Linked DNA regions of Homo sapiens: regions 2 and 3 are each linked to region 1. The links are contacts of gene promoters, found by promoter capture Hi-C in blood cells and fetal thymus (Javierre and others, 2016). All regions are on one chromosome and are shown on one strand. Each heading gives the region's core, a stretch centred on a gene start or on the middle of the fragment in contact. The rest is flanking DNA. Distances are from core to core; before and after follow the strand shown.

The links. The method cuts DNA at HindIII sites, captures the fragments that hold promoters and counts their contacts. A CHiCAGO score of 5 or more calls a contact.
Region 2: a contact is called between a fragment that was not itself captured here and the fragment with the promoter of UTY in region 1, in 1 of 17 cell types (monocytes). The highest score is 6.4, in monocytes.
Region 3: a fragment that was not itself captured here is called in contact with the fragment with the promoter of UTY in region 1 in 1 of 17 cell types (fetal thymus); the score reaches 5.1 in fetal thymus.

What each region holds. Positions count from the first base shown.
Region 1 is chrY:13,478,555-13,481,429 of GRCh38, reverse strand. UTY (ubiquitously transcribed tetratricopeptide repeat containing, Y-linked) reads left to right here and starts at 1,397. Exons shown (of 30, transcript NM_001258249.2): 1 at 1,397-1,916; 2 at 2,113-2,176. The coding sequence starts at 1,765. MIR12120 (microRNA 12120) reads right to left here and starts at 2,253; the gene lies at 2,164-2,253. The HindIII fragment of the contact is 7,265 bases long and covers 1-2,875 here.
Region 2 is chrY:13,352,458-13,355,332 of GRCh38, reverse strand. It overlaps UTY (ubiquitously transcribed tetratricopeptide repeat containing, Y-linked), which reads left to right. Exons shown (of 30, transcript NM_001258249.2): 17 at 1-330. Among named protein-coding and RNA genes, the nearest start is that of MIR12120, 130 kb to the left of the region's middle. The HindIII fragment of the contact is 8,782 bases long and covers 1-2,875 here.
Region 3 is chrY:13,387,170-13,390,044 of GRCh38, reverse strand. All of the region lies in intron 8 of UTY (ubiquitously transcribed tetratricopeptide repeat containing, Y-linked), which reads left to right. Among named protein-coding and RNA genes, the nearest start is that of MIR12120, 91 kb to the left of the region's middle. The HindIII fragment of the contact is 1,410 bases long and covers 716-2,125 here.

The DNA.
Region 1 (2,875 bases), core at 148-2,647:
CTCTTATCTACATTTTTTTTTTTTTTTTTTTTTTTGAGACGGAGTTTTGCTCTTGTTGCCCAGGCTGGAATGCAATGGTGCCATCTCGGCTCACCGCAACCTCCGCCTCTTGGGTTCAAGCGATTCGCCTGCCTCAGTCTTCAGAGTAGCTGAGATTACAGGCATGCGCCACCATGCTCTGTTAATTTTGTATTTTTAGTAGAGACGGGGTTTTTCCATGTTGGTGACGCTGGTCTGAAACTCCCAACGTTAGGTCATCTGCCCGCCTCGGCCTCCCAAAGTGCTGGGATTACTGGCGTAAACCACAGCGCCCGACCTGTCTCTTATCTATTTCTAACATGGAAGCCCCCGCTTCGAGCTGTCCCTCTTACCTGACCGAACCAATCATGTTTCCCTAAAACGTACAAAAGCAAGCTGTGCCCTGACCACCTTGGGCAAATGTATCATGGGTAAGTCTTGCAAAATAAACTTTTTAAATTGACTAAGACCTCTCTCAGATATTTGGGGTTCAGAAATAAATTCTTTTACCTATTATTTATAATTTTGGTTACAATTGAGAAAGTAAGAAAAAAGTGGTGTTTTTTTCTTTTCTAAGGGTTACTGCATCTTGAAAGTGTGATGAAGGTCTTAATTATTGTTCTTATAATTCCTGTCCACAGAAGCTCCTACTCTTACTGAGACCTCACGGAATTATCATTATCACAATAGAAATAAACATTTTGGGTTTGTGGAGTAACTTTTTTTTTTTTTTTTTTTTTTGCTCATCGTTTGTTGTTTAGATAATATCATGAACTGATAAATGCAGTTGCCACGTTGATTCCCTAGGGCCTGGCTTACCGACTGAGGTCATAAGATATTATGCCTTCTCTTTAGACTTGGTCAGTGGAGAGGAAATGGGCAAAGAACCAGCCTATGGAGGTGACAAGGCCTTAGGGCCAAAAGTCTTGAGGGTGAAGGTTTAGGGCCTGCGCAGCTTCCCTGCCATGCCCCGCAAGGTCTCGCATTCGCAAGGCTTGTGACAGTGGGAGCCTCATTACGGACTCTCCTAAAGTCCATGGTGTCCTCTTTTCGCATTTGCGCCCCGTGGGTGATGCCCGATGCCGCCCTTCCCATCGCTCTCTTCCCCTTCAAGCGTATCGCAACTGCAAAAACACCCAGCACAGACACTCCATTTTCTATCTTAATGCATTTAACTAGCACAACCTACAGGTTGTTCCATCCCAGAGACTACCCTTTTCTCCATAGACGTGACCATCAACCAACCAGCGGTCAGAATCAGTCAGCCTCTGTCATGTTCCTAGGTCCTTGGCGAACTGGCTGGGCGGGGTCCCAGCAGCCTAGGAGTACAGTGGAGCAATGCCTGACGTAAGTCAACAAAGATCACGTGAGACGAATCAGTCGCCTAGATTGGCTACAACTAAGTGGTTGGGAGCGGGGAGGTCGCGGCGGCTGCGTGGGGTTCGCCCGTGACACAATTACAACTTTGTGCTGGTGCTGGCAAAGTTTGTGATTTTAAGAAATTCTGCTGTGCTCTCCAGCACTGCGAGCTTCTGCCTTCCCTGTAGTTTCCCAGATGTGATCCAGGTAGCCGAGTTCCGCTGCCCGTGCTTCGGTAGCTTAAGTCTTTGCCTCAGCTTTTTTCCTTGCAGCCGCTGAGGAGGCGATAAAATTGGCGTCACAGTCTCAAGCAGCGATTGAAGGCGTCTTTTCAACTACTCGATTAAGGTTGGGTATCGTCGTGGGACTTGGAAATTTGTTGTTTCCATGAAATCCTGCGCAGTGTCGCTCACTACCGCCGCTGTTGCCTTCGGTGATGAGGCAAAGAAAATGGCGGAAGGAAAAGCGAGCCGCGAGAGTGAAGAGGAGTCTGTTAGCCTGACAGTCGAGGAAAGGGAGGCGCTTGGTGGCATGGACAGGTACGCACCTCCATCACCCGCCTGGTTGGCTGGCGATACTCTCCGGGAAGGCCTGGACGCAGCTTGCCCACGTTGATGACGGGGTCATCCTCAGCTTGGCACTCACCAATCTGTCGCTGTCGCTCTTGGACTCGGGAAGGAGCAAGTCACTGGCTTTCTCAGACCATTAACAAGCTCTGTGTCTCTCTCTCTACAGCCGTCTCTTCGGGTTCGTGAGGCTTCATGAAGATGGCGCCAGAACGAAGACCCTACTAGGCAAGGTAAAAGCAACCAGACGCAAAGTCTTTGGTCCGCACTTTGCTCTACCAAGGCCCCGCGTTCCTTACCGCCCAGCCAGTATTTATTTTGGCTCTGCTCCATGGCCAAGGGGTCGGAAAAGTGTTTCTTGCCTTTGCTGTCCCCGTACTCTGGAATACTTCGCCCCTTGCTCCAGACTCCCTTCTACTCTGAGGAAAAAAAAAATCGGACGCTTTGGGACCGGGCTAAACCGGGTCTACACCACATGCCTGTTACTTTAGGGCCTTTTGTTCCTGAATTTTAGCGTCACAAATAGTGAATGTGTACAGTTTTCAAAATTCATAACTTCCTGCTTCTTCCCCTCGCCTTTTGGTATTTGGCTCTTGGTGTCTAATTTTAAACATTTTTTTGCCTTTTTAAAAAAAATATCCCTGGTGTCCTAAGTGTAAGTAGCAAGTAAGTTACAGCGGTGAAGAGTTTGCAGTAGATATTTGACCTATAAACTGATGCGTGTATGTTTAGCCTGAAGTTTAGTGATTTGTTGACTTTTTTAGGATGCACAGTGCTGCAAATGTGATTTCATGAATGTGTGTGCTTTTTCCATTCAGGAACCTTGTTTCTTAGGTGTCATGCTCACAGTGGGAAGAATTTGTTGTTTGTGTGAAAAGTTGGCACTGTCGTTTAGTTAATGGCTGCTCCTATCAGCCAAGATGGCGGGTAAA
Region 2 (2,875 bases), core at 98-2,597, 130 kb after region 1:
TCACTGCCTACAAACTCTGTCTCTAATCGACAACCACATGGTGCTCTGACCAGAGTATCTAGCGTCTCTCAGCCTGGAGTTCGCCCTGCTTGTGTTGAAAAACTTTTGTCCAGTGGAGCTTTTTCTGCAGGCTGTATTCCTTGTGGCACATCAAAAATTCTAGGAAGTACAGACACTATCTTGCTAGGCAGTAATTGTATAGCAGGAAGTGAAAGTAATGGAAATGTGCCTTACCTGCAGCAAAATACACACACTCTACCTCATAATCATACAGACCTGAACAGCAGCACAGAAGAGCCATGGAGAAAACAGCTATCTAACTCCGCTCAGGTAAAAAAAGGACTAGCTGCTTTCTTGGCTCTTATATAGTAGTTTATCTTTATTTAGTTTGTGTACATTCTAAAAAGATAGAAATTTAAAGAATGGCTTTGTCTTTAAAAAGTAATTTAAGTAATTGATAAGAGTATAAAACTTTTAAGTGATACCAGGATCATTACAGGCCTACCTTGGACATCTTACAGGTTTCATACAAGACAACTGCAATAAAGTGAGTATCATAATAAAGCCAATCACACTAATTTAGTTTTATTTTTTAGTGCATATAAAAGTTATGTTTACACTATATTATGTCAGTTTGCAATTATAATTTGTGTAAGCAAACAACATCTTACTTTGAAAATATTTTATTGCTTAAAAAAAGAAAGCCTGTGATCATTAAGCAAGTCATAATTTTTTTGGCGGTAGACGGTCTTGCCTCTATGGTGATGACTGCTCATTGATCAGGATGGTGTTTGCTGATGAAGTGGCTGTGACCCCTTAAGACAACAACGATATTTGCTACTGTGATCTTCCCTCCCTTCCTTCCCTCTTTCCTTCCTTCCTTGCTCCCTCTCTTCCTTTCCTCCCTCTCTCCTTCCCTGCCTCCCTTTTTTTTTGAGACAGAGTCTCACTCTGTTGCCCAGCCTGTGCAATGGGGCTATCTTGGCTCACTGTAACCTCTGCCTTCTAGGTTCAAATGATTCTCCTGCCTCAGCCTCCAAAGTAGCTGGGACTACACGCATGCCACCACTCCTAGCTAATTTTTGTAATTTTGGTGGAGATGGGGTTTCACCATGTTTGTCAGGCTGGTCTCAAACTCCTGATCTCAAGTGAAGTGCCCACCTCGGCCTCCGAAAGTGCTGGGATTACAGGCATGAGCCACCGTGCCCAACAAACTCTTTGTTTCTTGAAAGATTTCTTTGTAGGATGCCATGCTATTTGATGTTTTCCCAATGATATAACTTCTTTCAAAGTTAGAGTCAATCCTCTTGAACTTTGCCACTGCCTTTATCAAATAAATTTATGTAATATTCCAAATCGTTTGTTTGTATCACAGTAGTTAGTGTTCACAGCATTTCCCCAGGAGTGGATTTCCTCTCAGAAAACCACTTTCTTTTCTCATCCCTGAAACAACAACTTCTAATCCATTCAAAATTTGTTGTGCACTTGCAGCAATTCAGTCACTTCTTCAGGCTCCACCTGTCAAACTGTCTTGCCATTTCTACATCTGTAGTTCCTTCCTCAACTGAAGTCTTGAACACCTCAAAGTCATCCATGAGGATTGGAATCAACTTCTTCCACATTCATTTTGACCTCCTCCCATGAATCATGAAAGTCCTTAATGACATGTTGAATGACTGAATCCTTTTCAGAAAGTTTTCCCTTTCCTTTGCTTTATTAGAGGAATTGCTGTCTGTGTTAGTTATATATAGACTTATGAAATGAAATGTATTTCTTAAATAATAAGACTTAAAGTCAAAATTACTTCTTGATCCATGAGCCGCAGAATAGATACTGTGTTAGGCATGAAGACAAATTTAATCTCTTTTTACATCTGTCAGAGCTCTTGAATGACCAAATGTATATTTAATGAGGAATAGTATATTGAAAGGAATCTCTTTTTCTGAGTAGTAGCTATCCATATAGACTTAAAAGTATTCAGTAAACCATGATGTCAACAGTTGGGCTATCACACAGGCTTTGTTATCCCATTTATAAAGCACAGGCAGAGTGGATTTAGCATACCTCTTTAGGGCTGTGGGATTTTCAGAATGATAAATGAGCATTGCCTTCAGCTTATAGTCACCAGCCTTATTAGTTCCTAACAAAGGTGTCAGCCTGTCTTTTGAGGCCTTGAAACCAGGTGTTAACTTCTCTCTAGTTAGAAAAGACCTAAATCACATCTTCTTCCACTGTAATCTTCATTGAAAATCTATTGTTTAGTGTAGCCACCTTCATCAATGATACTAGCTAGGTCTTCTGGATAACTTGCTGCTTTACCTTGCACTTACTTATATTATGGAGATGACTTCTTTCCTTCTCCCTCATAAACCAACTTCTACTGGCTTCAGACTTTTCTTCTGCAGCTTCCTTACCACGGTCAGCCTTCATAGATTTGAAGGAGGGGTTTACACCCTTTTTCTGGATTAGGCTTTGGCTTGAGGGAATATTGTCAGTGATGAGACAGCTTTTATCTAGACCACTAAAACTTTCTTTATATCATCAATAAGGTTGTTTTGCTTTCTTAACATTTGTATGTCCATGGGAGTAACAGTTTTACTTTCCTTGGCCTTCACAACTCAGCTAACTGGTACAAGAGGGCTAGTTTTATGACTGTCTTGGCTTTGGACATGCCTTCCTCACTAACTTTAATTGTTCTAGCTTTGGATTTAAAGGGAGAGATGTGGCTTGGTACAGTGGCTCAGGCCTTTAATTACAAGACTGTGGGAGGCCAAGGCAGGAGGATTGCTTGAGCCCAGGAGTTGGAGACCAGCCTGGAAAACATACCAAGACCCCATCTGTACGAAAACTACAAAAATTAGCAGGGCATGGTGTC
Region 3 (2,875 bases), core at 171-2,670, 91 kb after region 1:
ATAATGAATCATCCCCAAAAGAAATGGAAAGATCTGTAGCCTGAAATATGTTAAACATCCGTGAAGGAAGCTGAAGATGACAGAAATAAATAGCAAGGTCTCTCCACGTTCATGGATTAGAAGAATCAGTATTTATCATAATGTGCATACTACACTAAGTGATGTCTCACAATTCCAATGGCATTTGCACAGAAATACAAAAAACTATTGTAAAATTTGTGTGGAATCAAAAGACACCCTGAAGAACTAAAGGAATCTTGGACAAGATAAACAAGGCTGGGCCATTACACTTCCTAATTTCAGAGTACGTTACAAAGCGACAGTAATGAAAATGGTAAGATAGTGACTGGTATGTAAAAAAATACATAGAACAATGGTACTTTATACAAAGCCTGGAAGAAAACCCCACATAGATAGGGTCAGCTGGTATTTGACAAAGGATCCAAGAAAATACAGTGGAAAAGGATAGTCTTTTTTGGGGAAAACTGGACATCCACATATATAAAAATGGAATTAGATTTTTATCTTACATCATACACAAAAAGCAACTCAAAATGAATTGAGGACTTATAAACATAAGACTTAAAACCATAATAGAAGAAAAGAGCAGGGAAAGCTGCATGACATTGATCTTAGCAGTGATTTTTCTGGATGTGGCACTAAAGACATAGGTAATAAAAGCAAAAATAGGTGGATTGCATCAAACTGAAAAGCTTGTATACAGCAAAGAAAGCAATCAACAAAGTTAAAAGCATCCTGGGAGTTTGGGAGATGGTACTTGCCAACCATAAATTCCAATAAGGGTTAATACCCCAAATATCTCCAAAACTCATATTACTTAGTAACCAAAAAGTAACCTACAAGTAAAAGTGGGCAAAAGGACCTGGATAGACATTTTTCCAAAGAAAGTATAGTAATGGTCAACAGGTATATGACACACTGCTTAGTAGAACTAATCAGGGAATTTCAAATCAAATCCATCATGAAATATCACCTCATATCTTAGGATGGCTTTATTAGTCAGTTTTCATACTGCTGATAAAGACATACCCAAGACTGGGAAATTTAGAAAGAGGTTTAATTGACTCACAGTACTACATGGCTGGAAGGCCTCTGGAAACTTAGAATCATGGCAGAAGGTGAGGGAAAGCAAGGCACTTCTTCACAAGGCGGCAGGAGAATTGTCAAGCAGAGACGGAAGAGCCCAATAAAATCATTAGATCTTGTGAGAACTCACTATCACAAGAACAGCATGGAGGAAACCACCCCCATGCACCTGGTCTCCCTTGACACGTGGGTATTTGTGGAGATTACAATTGAAGATGAGATTTGGGTGGGGGCACAAAGCCTAACTACATCAGTGGATGTTAATCAAAAAGTTAAAAGTGATACTGAGGATGTGGAGAAAAGAGAACAAACCATACAGTCCTGGTGGGGGATATAAATTGGTACAGCCATTATGGAAAACAGATGAAGGTTACTTAAAAAATTAAAAATAGAGCTACCATATAATCCAGCCATTCACTTCGTATATATCCAAAGGAAACAACATCAGCATCTGTCTGCACTTCATACTAATTGTAGTATTATTTGCAGTAGCCAAGAAACAAACTACATGGCCATTGAAAGATGAATGGATGAAGAAAACAGGGGAGGGTGTATCTAAATATATACACAATGGAATGTTATTTGACCTTTACTATAATGCATGTTGTGAAATGTTTAAAGACACATGTATAACATAAGTATCTACAAATGCTATTTGCATGCAACATGCAGTAACATCTATGTTAGTTTTCTTCTTGGATATTTTTTGTTCATTTTGATAAGATAACTGGAGCATTTCATCATCTATTGTTACTTCTTTTGGTGTTATTTGTACATGTTTTTAACATAGTAAATCTCCTTAAGCCTACTTTATTTTAGTTTTGTATTTAGAAATTACCTAAATGAATCCAGAAGTTGAATCCTTGAAAAGATCAAATGGATATTTCTCACAGATGAAAAAAATGAAAAATGTTAAAAGTAGTGTTGGAGAAATTTGCTACAGGGTTACAGATGTGTTAATAGAAGATATTTTAGAACTATTGTATAAAAATATAACAAGTTTGAAAATCTAGAAGCTTTTTCCTAGCAGAACATAAATGATGAAATTTTACCCAGAAGTAGAAAACTTGAGTGGGCAAGTTGCTGCTCCAGTCTTATTCATAGAAATTAAATTTTTTATTGTTGTTAAGACAGAGTTTCACTGTTGTTGCCCAGGCTGGAGTGCATTGGTGCGATCTCAGCTCACTGCAACCTCTGCCTCCCGGGGTCGAGTGATTCCCCTGCCTCAGCCTCCCTAGTAGCTGGCATTATAGATGCCTGCCACCATGCCCAGCTGATTTTTGTATTTTTAGTAGAGAAGGGATTTCACCGCATTTGCCAGGCTGGCCTCAAACTCTTGACCTCAGGTGATCCACCCACCTCAGCTTCTCAAAATGCTGGGATTGCAGGCATGAGCCACTGCACCCAGCCAGAAATTAAAATTTAATATAAAAATTTTAAAAGGAAAACCTTTTCTGACTAGTCTTTCAGATTTAGAAACTAGTGATATTTTAACATTCATTTTGTTACTATAATGCTGCATAATTTTGAATGTGTTTGTACAAAATGAAAAGAAAAAGGGTCTGTGAATTCTTCTTCCCTCTGCCTCTAACTATATTTATTACCAAAGCCACCTGTGTTAATAGTTATTTGAGTATTGTACAAAACTCTTTTGTTTAGGTAAATTCACACATGTATTTGTATAATTTGTTTTTGTTTTCCTTTATTCAAATTATATGTAGCCTGTGAGCATACTCTGACTCTGAAGTTTTTTTGTTGTTTTTTTTTT